Regions from separate parts of the Homo sapiens genome. Here regions 1 and 3 are each linked to region 2. The links are contacts of gene promoters, found by promoter capture Hi-C in blood cells and fetal thymus (Javierre and others, 2016). All regions are on one chromosome and are shown on one strand. Each heading gives the region's core, a stretch centred on a gene start or on the middle of the fragment in contact. The rest is flanking DNA. Distances are from core to core; before and after follow the strand shown. Region 1 overlaps BIRC3 (baculoviral IAP repeat containing 3). Region 2 holds the start of NPAT (nuclear protein, coactivator of histone transcription). Region 3 has its middle 15 kb from the start of BIRC3.

What was found. Contacts are between HindIII fragments. The CHiCAGO score rates a contact against its expected background, and 5 or more counts as called.
Region 1: a fragment that was not itself captured here is called in contact with the fragment with the promoter of NPAT in region 2 in 1 of 17 cell types (total CD8 T cells); the score reaches 5.9 in total CD8 T cells.
Region 3: a contact is called between a fragment that was not itself captured here and the fragment with the promoter of NPAT in region 2, in 1 of 17 cell types (non-activated CD4 T cells). The highest score is 6.7, in non-activated CD4 T cells.

Annotation. Positions count from the first base shown.
Region 1 is chr11:102,318,475-102,322,003 of GRCh38, forward strand. It overlaps BIRC3 (baculoviral IAP repeat containing 3), which reads left to right. Exons shown (of 9, transcript NM_001165.5): 2 at 3,363-3,529. Among named protein-coding and RNA genes, the nearest start is that of BIRC3, 2.8 kb to the left of the region's middle. RefSeq lists enhancers at 1, 262-311, 1,182-1,261, 1,883-1,992. The HindIII fragment of the contact is 808 bases long and covers 1,698-2,505 here.
Region 2 is chr11:108,220,499-108,223,887 of GRCh38, forward strand. NPAT (nuclear protein, coactivator of histone transcription) reads right to left here and starts at 2,140. Exons shown (of 18, transcript NM_002519.3): 1 at 2,002-2,140. The coding sequence starts at 2,038. ATM (ATM serine/threonine kinase) reads left to right here and starts at 2,569. Exons shown (of 63, transcript NM_000051.4): 1 at 2,569-2,688. RefSeq lists enhancers at 2,036-2,095, 2,506-2,665, 2,976-3,055. The HindIII fragment of the contact is 4,203 bases long and covers 1,909-3,389 here.
Region 3 is chr11:102,300,790-102,304,315 of GRCh38, forward strand. No RefSeq gene overlaps it. Among named protein-coding and RNA genes, the nearest start is that of BIRC3, 15 kb to the right of the region's middle. The HindIII fragment of the contact is 3,302 bases long and covers 1-3,248 here.

The DNA.
Region 1 (3,529 bases), core at 852-3,351, 5.9 Mb before region 2:
CCCCATATACCAAGCTCTGCAGATGCTATGAGTGGGAGGGCAGGTACAGAGATGAAACATATTAATAGTTGCCATTCTAAAAGAGCTTACTGTCTAGCGGGAGGCAGAAAGAAAAGGCACACTTGCCCTCCAGTGTCAGAAAAATGGATGTGCTGCATGCCCAAAGGGTAGGGATGCCCAACAGCCCTGGGACTGGGGAGGTTGCCTTCTTGGTAGGTTAAATGAATGAGTCAGAAGAGGAGAGGCTGGGGACTGAGCCAATCTGAGAAGGAACCACTAGAAATGAAAGAAGAATCCCAAGAGCTTGGTATCAGAGAAGCCCAGGGAATGGGACATTTCTAAGAGGAAGTGTGTCCCAGTGTCAGATGCAAACATTTCCATTGGTTTTAGCAAAAAAGCCATTGGTGTTATTAACACCGAAAGCAGTTTTAAGTGATGCTGACTTAATGAGTAAATGGGAGAGGGAAAATGGAGACATTAACCATACACACATGTCCAGTTTGCTTGGCTGTGAAGAGAAGGGGTGATACAGGGTAGTTGCTAGAGTGGAAAGTGTGGTTGAAAGAGGATTTTTTTTTTTTTTTTTTGAGACAGAGTCTCACTCTGTCACCCAGGCTGGAGTGCAGTGGTGCAGTCTCGGCTTACTGCAACCTCCACCTCCCGGGTTCAAGCGATTCTCCTGCCTCAGCCTCCTGAGCAGCTGGGACTACAGGTGCATGCCACCACACCCGGCTAATTTTTTGTATTTTTTTTAGTAGAGACGGGGTTTCACCGTGTTAGCCAGGATGGTCTCAGTCTCCTGACCTCGTGATCCACTCGCCTCAGCCTCCTGAAGTGCTGGGATTACAGGCATGAGCCACCACACCCGGCCGAAAGAGAATTTTAAAAATTTCTTTCATTTGAAAGTTGAGATAGATTTAAGCATGGTTATGTGAAAGGAAAAAGGCCAGTCGAGAGTGACAGGAATGAGAGTTGAAGCAATGAGGGGATGGGATTAAGAACAAGATTTCTGAGGCAGTAGGACAGTGTAGGATCCCATAAGGGGGCAAGTCTTTAACTGAGACAGCAAGTAGGTTGTGAGCCAAAACGGCTTGGATATGAGAACGTGAGAAGGTTCCTGCTCAATGATGTCTCTTTTCTTTGAGAAACAGAAGGCAAAGTAATTGACTGAAAATGAGATGGAGTGCAGTGGAGAAATTTGAGGAAGGTGTTGAAGGTTTAGAAGAGGTGCATAGGGCATGGGCTAGGGAGCTGAGCCTATTGCTAAGGGATGGCAGAGGAGTCTTAAGTGATGCTGGTCCCAGTCTGCAGGGTTGCATCTAGGTGTTGGAAATGATTAGGACAGAGGTTGAAGTGATCTAGGGTTGACATCTTGGCATATTTGTGTATATTTATTGTATAGTTGTTGCCTAAATTTCCACAAATATATGCCTTGCTGGAGTGCAGTGGTGTGATCTTGGCTTACTGCAACCTTCACCTCCCGGGTTCAAGTGATTCTCCTGCTTCAGTCTCCTGAGTAGCTGGAAATACAGGTGCGTGCCACCACGCCCGATGGTTTTTTTTTTTGGATTTTTAGTAGAGACAGGGTTTCACCATGTTGGCCAGCCTGGTCTCGAACTCCTGATCTCAAGTTATCTGCTTTCCTTGGCCTCCCAAAGTGCTGGGATTACAGGCGTGAGCCACCACGCCTGACCTAAAGCTTCTTTAGGATAAGATTTGTGTAAGGGGTTTGCAAACTCAAATGGAGGTGATATAAATGAGAAAAACTCTCAGTGTCTCTCTTTCTCTCTCTCTCTCTTTTTTTGAGACAGGGTCTTGCTCTGTCACCCAGTTTGGAGTGCAGTTATGCAGTCTCACACTGCAAGCTCTGCCTCATGGGCTCAAGTGAACCTCCTGCCTCAGCCTCTCAAGTAGCTGGGACCACAGGCAGGTGCCACCATGTCTGGCTAATTTTTGAGTTTCTTTGTAGAGATGGTGTTTTGCCAAGTCACCCAGTTTGAGGCTGGTCTCAAACACCTGGGCTCAAGCAATCCATCTACCTCAGCCTCCCAAAGTGCTGGGATTACAGGAGTGAGCCATGGCATGAGGCCTTGTGGGGTGTCTCTTTTAAATGAAAGCATACTCTGTTTACGTATTTGATATGAAGGAATATCCTTCCTTTCCACAAAGACAAAAATTATCCTATTTTTCTCAAAACATATGTCCTTTTTCTCTACTTTTCATTTTTGTTACTTTTGATGGACACATGTGTTACATTGATTTCACTTTCTCATAATTCTGCTGTAAGAAAAACAATAGTGCCAGTTCAATGACAAATAGCAACAGTCTGTTATTGCTAGACTGTTACTGTTAGTGGAGACTACCAGAACAGTCAGTCCCAGTGTCAGGGAATCAAAGAGAACATGTTCCCTCTCTAAAGGGCACAGCTGCTGCTCAGCTTTAGCTGATTGCTGCCCTGCAGGACTATAGGCCCAGTGTTGCTAGATCTTTTGATGTTTCAAGAGAAGCTTGGAATCTAGAATGTGATGGGAAGTCTCTTACATTTAAACATGTTGGCAATTAATGGTAAGATTTAAAAATACTGTGGTCCAAGAAAAAAATGGATTTGGAAACTGGATTAAATTCAAATGAGGCATGCAGATTAATCTACAGCATGGTACAATGTGAATTTTCTGGTTTCTTTAATTGCACTGTAATTAGGTAAGATGTTAGCTTTGGGGAAGCTAAGTGCAGAGTATGCAGAAACTATTATTTTTGTAAGCTTTCTCTAAGTATAAATAAATTTCAAAATAAAAATAAAAACTTAGTAAAGAACTATAATGCAATTCTATGTAAGCCAAACATAATATGTCTTCCAGTTTGAAACCTCTGGGTTTTATTTTATTTTATTTTATTTTTGAGACAGAGTCTTGCTGTGTCACCCAGGCTGGAGTGTAGTGGCACTATTTCGGCCCACTGCAACCTCCACCTCCCAGGCTCACATGATTCTCCTGCCTCAGCCTCCGGAGTAGCTGGGATTACAGGCGCGTACCACCACACCCAGCTAATTTTTGTATTTTTAGTAGAGATGGGGTTTCACCATTTTGGCCAGGCTGGTTTTGAACTCCTGACCTCAAGTGATCCACTTGTCTTGGCCTCCCAAAATGCTGGGATTACAGGCGTGAGCCACTGCACCAGGCAGAGGCCTCTGTTTTTTATCTCTTTTTGGCCTCTACAGTGCCTAGTAAAGCACCTGATACATGGTAAACGATCAGTAATTACTAGTACTCTATTTTGGAGAAAATGATTTTTTAAAAAGTCATTGTGTTCCATCCATGAGTCGTTTGAGTTTTAAAACTGTCTTTTTGTTTGTTTTTGAACAGGTTTACAAAGGAGGAAAACGACTTCTTCTAGATTTTTTTTTCAGTTTCTTCTATAAATCAAAACATCTCAAAATGGAGACCTAAAATCCTTAAAGGGACTTAGTCTAATCTCGGGAGGTAGTTTTGTGCATGGGTAAACAAATTAAGTATTAACTGGTGTTTTACTA
Region 2 (3,389 bases), core at 890-3,389:
GCAATTGGCACAGTGTTTGGAACATACTAGGCACCCAAAGATTTGCTAGAAAAAAAACATTATGAAGGGACCAATAACAAGAGGAGCTGAAGATGGCGAGGGGGTACTGATAGGAAAAGAATCATGAGTAAATAATAAACCTCATATGAGAAAGATATACACGATATGTATCTATTTAAGATGTAAAATGATAAACGACAAAAGTAAGAGCATTAGGCATGGGGAGGCTTTTTTGTATTGTATACTCCTGCCCATCTGAAATTTTTAGTAAGAATAGAATTATCTCAACTTTCAGACTAAAAGGTATAGTGTGAAAGCTTCAGGGAGATTTGTAACAACAGTAAATAAAATGAATTGCGAGGACAACTGTCTGGGAAGCCATGACAGAAGTCCAAAAGAGAAGTAATGGCAGGCACATTGCGGGATTGGTGGCAGTGAAAATGGAATGTGAATGACAAAGATTTTTAAGATAAGAAAACCATGGCTGGCGTTTTTTGTCCATTAAATGAAAAGCAGGAAGTCAGCAGAGTAGCTGGTTTGTGGAGAAAGAATACTCACACATCGATGTGAATTATTTCAATTAGAAAATGATACTGCTTTCTTAGGGCTTTCTTAACTAGGGGTGATTCTGCCCTCCAGGGGACATACTAGCAATATCTAGAGACATTTTCACTGATCACAACTGGGTAAGGGTAGGGTGGGGAACGGGTGTCCTACTGTAATCTAGTGAATAGAAGCCAGGAATGCTGCTAAACATCCTACAATGTTTGAGCACAGGATAGCTCCCCACAATAAAGAATTATGAGGCCCAAAATGTTAACAGTACTGAGGCTGAGAAACCATGTTTAAGACTATAGTTACCGAAACTCAACTAGATTACCAAACTGCCAAAACTCAGAATTCTTAAGCAAAAGATTAATCAGACATTAACAAAACATTAAACTTGTCATTAAGTTTCTTCAAAAATGGATGGTGGAACCATTTCCGTTTAACGTTTCCTGCAAAATGTGCTTATCAAGAGCCCTGCGCAAATAACATTTTTGTGGACAGCGCTGGGCATTTAAAAGAGGCACAAGACAAATGGGTTTTCCGAACAATAAAATAATAGTAGTAATGGCTGTGAATACTATGGGAGGTTTCATCACAGATGCTTGCCATTTACTTTTAGGGACGTCGCATACGACGTCCGTAAATTACTGGCTCGGGTTTTGAGCTTTACCTGGCTCTCGTCCCCTGTAGTACAATCCTCTTTATTCTTTCAGGGGACAAACAACAACAAAACCCGTCTCTCACACAGACAATACACCCTGACAGACAAGTGACCCACAAACAATCCCTCCTCAAATGAAGGTAAAACTAGGGCTAGAAAACGTTCAACTAATTTAAGGCAATTAACCCTCTGAAATTTTTCGCTGATCAAAGGAACAGGAATTGCTGTTTTAAAATATGCAACTGGCATTTCACACCTCTACACTGGACGACGTATTGCGTGGAGGATGGAGAAGGAAGATCACCCCTACTCCCAAATTCGTAGTTATAAGGGCGGGTTATTAGAAGGGCGCCAGGAAGGTCTCTCTACAAAGATGGGGGGCCGGGGAACTCCCTATTTGCCCTATTTTGGTCCCAACACTGAACCAAGGAAATTGCGCCCAAGGTTGAAGCACACGCAATCCGTCCGTCATGCAGACAAATGCTCTTTCAGGGGTCCTAATTAAGTGTGGAGGCCTGACTTTCCTTCCGAATCCGCCCCAGGTGTTCCACCCCGAGCTTCCCCTCGGGCTTCCCCTCGCCACGCAGCCTCTGAAGAGAGGAGCATCTACATACAAAGAGGCTTAAACTGCCCAGAACCTCCGAATGACGAAGAATCACCGCCAGTCTCAACTCGTAAGCTGGGAGGCAAAACCCCAAAGCTTCCCTACCAAGGGAAAACCTTTGGCCTCAAAGGTCCTTCTGTCCAGCATAGCCGGGTCCAATAACCCTCCATCCCGCGTCCGCGCTTACCCAATACAAGCCGGGCTACGTCCGAGGGTAACAACATGATCAAAACCACAGCAGGAACCACAATAAGGAACAAGACTCAGGTTAAAGCAAACACAGCGACAGCTCCTGCGCCGCATCTCCTGGTTCCAGTGGCGGCACTGAACTCGCGGCAATTTGTCCCGCCTCTTTCGCTTCACGGCAGCCAATCGCTTCCGCCAGAGAAAGAAAGGCGCCGAAATGAAACCCGCCTCCGTTCGCCTTCGGAACTGTCGTCACTTCCGTCCTCAGACTTGGAGGGGCGGGGATGAGGAGGGCGGGGAGGACGACGAGGGCGAAGAGGGTGGGTGAGAGCCCCGGAGCCCGAGCCGAAGGGCGAGCCGCAAACGCTAAGTCGCTGGCCATTGGTGGACATGGCGCAGGCGCGTTTGCTCCGACGGGCCGAATGTTTTGGGGCAGTGTTTTGAGCGCGGAGACCGCGTGATACTGGATGCGCATGGGCATACCGTGCTCTGCGGCTGCTTGGCGTTGCTTCTTCCTCCAGAAGTGGGCGCTGGGCAGTCACGCAGGGTTTGAACCGGAAGCGGGAGTAGGTAGCTGCGTGGCTAACGGAGAAAAGAAGCCGTGGCCGCGGGAGGAGGCGAGAGGAGTCGGGATCTGCGCTGCAGCCACCGCCGCGGTTGATACTACTTTGACCTTCCGAGTGCAGTGGTAGGGGCGCGGAGGCAACGCAGCGGCTTCTGCGCTGGGAAATTCAGTCGTGTGCGACCCAGTCTGTCCTCTCCCCAGACCGCCAATCTCATGCACCCCTCCAGAGTGGCCCTTGACTCCTCCCTCTCCTCACTCCATCTTTCCTGGCCTCTCTCCGGGTGCTTAGCGGACTTGGCCAATAACCTCCTCCTTTTAAACGCCCTGAATTGAACCCTGCCTCCTGCGCATCCTCTTTTTGTGTCACCTTAGGGTTCAGATTTAACTACGCGACTTGACTAGTCATCTTTTGATCTCTCTCTCGTATTTAGTACTTTTAGTCAGCGAGCATTTATTGATATTTCAACTTCAGCCTCGCGGTTAAGAGCTTGGGCTCTGGAATCATACGGCTGGAATTGGAATTCTGTCAGTCGTGTGGCCGCTCTCTACTGTCTTGTGAAGATAAGTGAGATAATCTTGACCTGTGGTGAGCACTCGTGAGCGTTAGCTGCTGTATTTACCAGGTACAGATAAGACAACTACAGTGGATGATAATGTATGTGGTGATAGGGGAGTACTCTGATGGTAGAGGAGTGACTTTGGTTCTCTGCAAACTCAGCCTGAGACTATCAATTCAGTTTGTGGTGAGACCTCGCAGTGTTACCTTGGCAGATGGTAGAAGCCTTCCAGATGGAAGGAAAAATGCGTGTAAAGGCACAAAGTGT
Region 3 (3,526 bases), core at 348-2,847, 5.9 Mb before region 2:
GGAGGTGCCTCCCAGTTAGGCTACACAGGGACCCACTTGAGGAGGTAGTCTGTGCTTTCTCAGAGCTCAAACACCATGCTAGGAGAATCACCACTCTCTTCAGAACTGTCAGACAGGGACATTTAAGTCTGCAGAAGCTGTCTGCTGTCTTTTGTTCAGCTATGCCCTGCCCACAGATGTGGAGTCTATAGAGGCAGTAGACCTTGCTGATCTACAGTGGGCTCCACCCAGTTCGAGCTTCTTGGCTAGTTTGTTTACCTACTCAAGCCTCAGCAATGGCAGATGCCCCTCCCCCAGCCAGGCTGCCACCTCACTGTTTGATCTCAGTCTGCTGTGCTAGCAGTGAGCAAGGCTCCATGGGCATGAGACCCACTGAGCCAGGCACAGGAGAGAATCTCCTTGTCTGCCAGTTGCTAAGACCTTGGGAAAAGTGCAGTATTTGGGCGGGAGTGTCCTGTTTTTCCAGGTACATTCTGTCCTGGCTTCCCTTGGCTAGGGAAAGGAAATCCCCCAATCTCTCGTGCTTCCCGGGTGAGGCAATGCCCCACCCTGCTTTGGCTCGCCCTCCGTGGGCTGCACCCACTGTCCAACCAGTCCCAATTAGATGAACCAGGTACCTCAGTTGGAAATGCAGAAATCACCCATCTTCTGCATCGATCATGCTGGGAGCTGCAGACCGGAGCTCTTCTTATTCAGCCACCTTGGAAAACAAGTCTTAGTCAGATGGTTTTAATGTCTAATTTTTTTAATCTATTCTAAATAAGAATTCACTTAACATATGCATTAGTCTATTCTTACATTGCTATAAAGAAATCCCCGAGGCTGGGTGATTTACAATGAAAAGAGATTTAATTGTCTCATGGTTTGGCAGGCTTTAAGGAAGCATAGTGCTGGCATCTGCTTCTGGTGAGGCCTCAGAAAGGTTACAATCATGTTGGAAGGCAATCGGGATCCAGCATGTCACATGGAGAGAACAAGAGCAAGAAAGAGAGGGAGGAAATGCCATGCCCTTTTAAAAATAACCAGATCTCAGGTGAACTAACAGAGTGAGAACCCACTCATCATGAAGGTGATGCCATTCATCAAAGATCTGCCCCCATGATCCAATATCTCCCACTTGGCCCCACCTCCAAGATTGAGGATTACATTTCAACATGAGATTAGGAGGAGTCAAACACCCAAACCATATCATTCCCCTTCTGGCCCCTCAAATCTCATGTCCTTCTCACATTATAAAATACATTCATCCTTTCTAACAGTCCCCCAAAGCCTTACCTCATTCCAGCATCAATTCAATCAAAAGTCCAAAGTCACATCTGAGTCTCAAGTTGAGTTCTTTTTACCTACAAACCTGTGAAGTCAAAACAAGTTATTTACACCCAAGATACAATGGTGGTAGAGGCATTGAGTAGACACTCTATTCCAAAAGGGAGAAATCAGCCAAAAGAAAGAGGCAATTGGCCCCATGCAAGTCTGAAACCCAGCAGGGTAGGCATTAAACTTTAAATTCCAAAATAATTTCCCTTGCCTCCATGTCCTGTATCCTGGGCATACTGGTGCAAGATGTGGGTTCCCAAAGCCTTGGGCAGCTTTGCCCTTATGGCTTTACAGAATGCAATTTGTGGCTGCTCTAATGGGCTGGAGTTAAGTTCCTGTGGCTTTTTCATGCTGAGCTTGCAAGCTGCTGTGGCTTTACCATTCTCAGGTCTGGAGGTTCGTGGCCCTCTTCCTACAGCTCCACTAGGCAGTGTCCTGCTGGGGACTCTGTAGGGTCTCAAACCCCACATTTCCTCTCAGTACTGCCCTAGTAGCATTTCTCTGTAGGGACTCTGTCCCTACTGCAGGCTTCTGCCTGGGCATCTAGGCTTTTCCATATATCCTCTGGAATCTAGGTGGGAGTTGCCAAGCCTCCTTTACTCTTGCATTTTGTACACCTGCAGCCTTAACACCATGTGGAAGCTGCCAAGGCTTACAGTGGTTTGCACTTTCCAAAGTGGCAGCTTGAGCTGTACCTATGGCCCTGTGAGCCATGGGTGGAGCTGGAGTGGCCAGGATGCAGAGAGTGGGGTCCTAAGACTGAGCAGGGAAGCAATGCCCTGTGCCTGGCCCCTGAAATAATTCTTTCCTCCTAGGCCTCTGACCTGTAATGAGAGGGGCTGCCTCAAAGATTTCTGAAATGTCTTTAAGTCCTTCTTCCCATTGTCATGGATATTAGCACCTGGCTCCCTTTTAGTTATGCCAGTCTCTTTAGCAAGTGGTTGGTCCACAGCCTGCTTGGATTCTTTCTCTACCACAGAGCCAGGCAGAAAATTTTCCAAACTTTTATGCTCTGCTTCCCTTTTATATATAAGTTCCAACTTATTTAAGTCATTTCTTTGCTCCTTCATCTGATATAGGCTCTTAGAAGCAGCCATGCTACATCTTTTTTTTTTTTTTTTTTTTAGACAGAGTTTTGCTCTGTTGCCCAGGCTAGAGTGCAGTGGTGCTATCTTGGCTCACTGCAAGCTCTGCCTCCCAGGTTCATGCCATTCTCCTGCCTCAGCCTCCCGAGTAGCTGGGACTACAGGCGCCCGCCACCACGCCTGGCTAATTTTTTGTAGTTTTAGTAGAGACGGGGTTTCACCGTGTTAGCCAGGATGGTCTCGATCTCCTGACCTCGTGATCCACCCGCCTTGGCCTCCCAAAGTGCTGGGATTACAGGCGTGAGCCACCGCGCCTGGCCCATGCTACATCTTGAATAATTTGCTGCTTAGAAATTTCTTCTGCCAGATACCCTACATCATCATTCTTAAGTTCAAACTTCTGCAATTTCCTAGAGCATGGACACAATACAGCCAAGTTTTTTTGCTAGGGTGTAACAAGGGTGGCCTTTGCTCCAGTTCCCAATAACTTCCTCATTTCCATCTAAGACCTTGTCAGCTTTGCTCTCACTTTCCATATTTCTATCAGCATTTTGGTCACAACCATTCAAACTTTCCCTCATCTTCCTGTCTTCTTCTGACCCCTCCAAACTCTTTCAGCCTCTGTTTGTTACTCAGTTGCAAAGCCAATTTCACATTTTCAGGTATCTTTATAGCAATGCCTTCCTCCCCAGTACCAATTTTCTATGTTAGTCCATTCTTGCATTGCTATATAAAAATACCCAAGGCTGGGTAATTTATAAAGAAAAAAAGGTTTAATTGGCTCACAATCCTGCAGGCTTTACCAGAAGCATGGCACTGGTATCTGCTTCTGATGAGGCCTCAAGAAGCTTACAATCATGGCAGAAGGTGATGGGAGCCAGCATGTCACATGGAGAGAAGAGGAGAAAGAGAGAGTGGAAGGAAGTTCCATGCTCTTTTAAACAACCAGAGCTCAGGTGACTGACAGAGTGAGAACCTATTCATTATGAAGGAGATGGTGCTAAGCCATTCATGAAGGATCTGTCCCATGATCCAATACCTCCCATTAGGTTCCACCTCCAACATTGGGAATTACATTTCAACATGAGATTGGAGGCAACAAACATCTAAACCACATCACCATA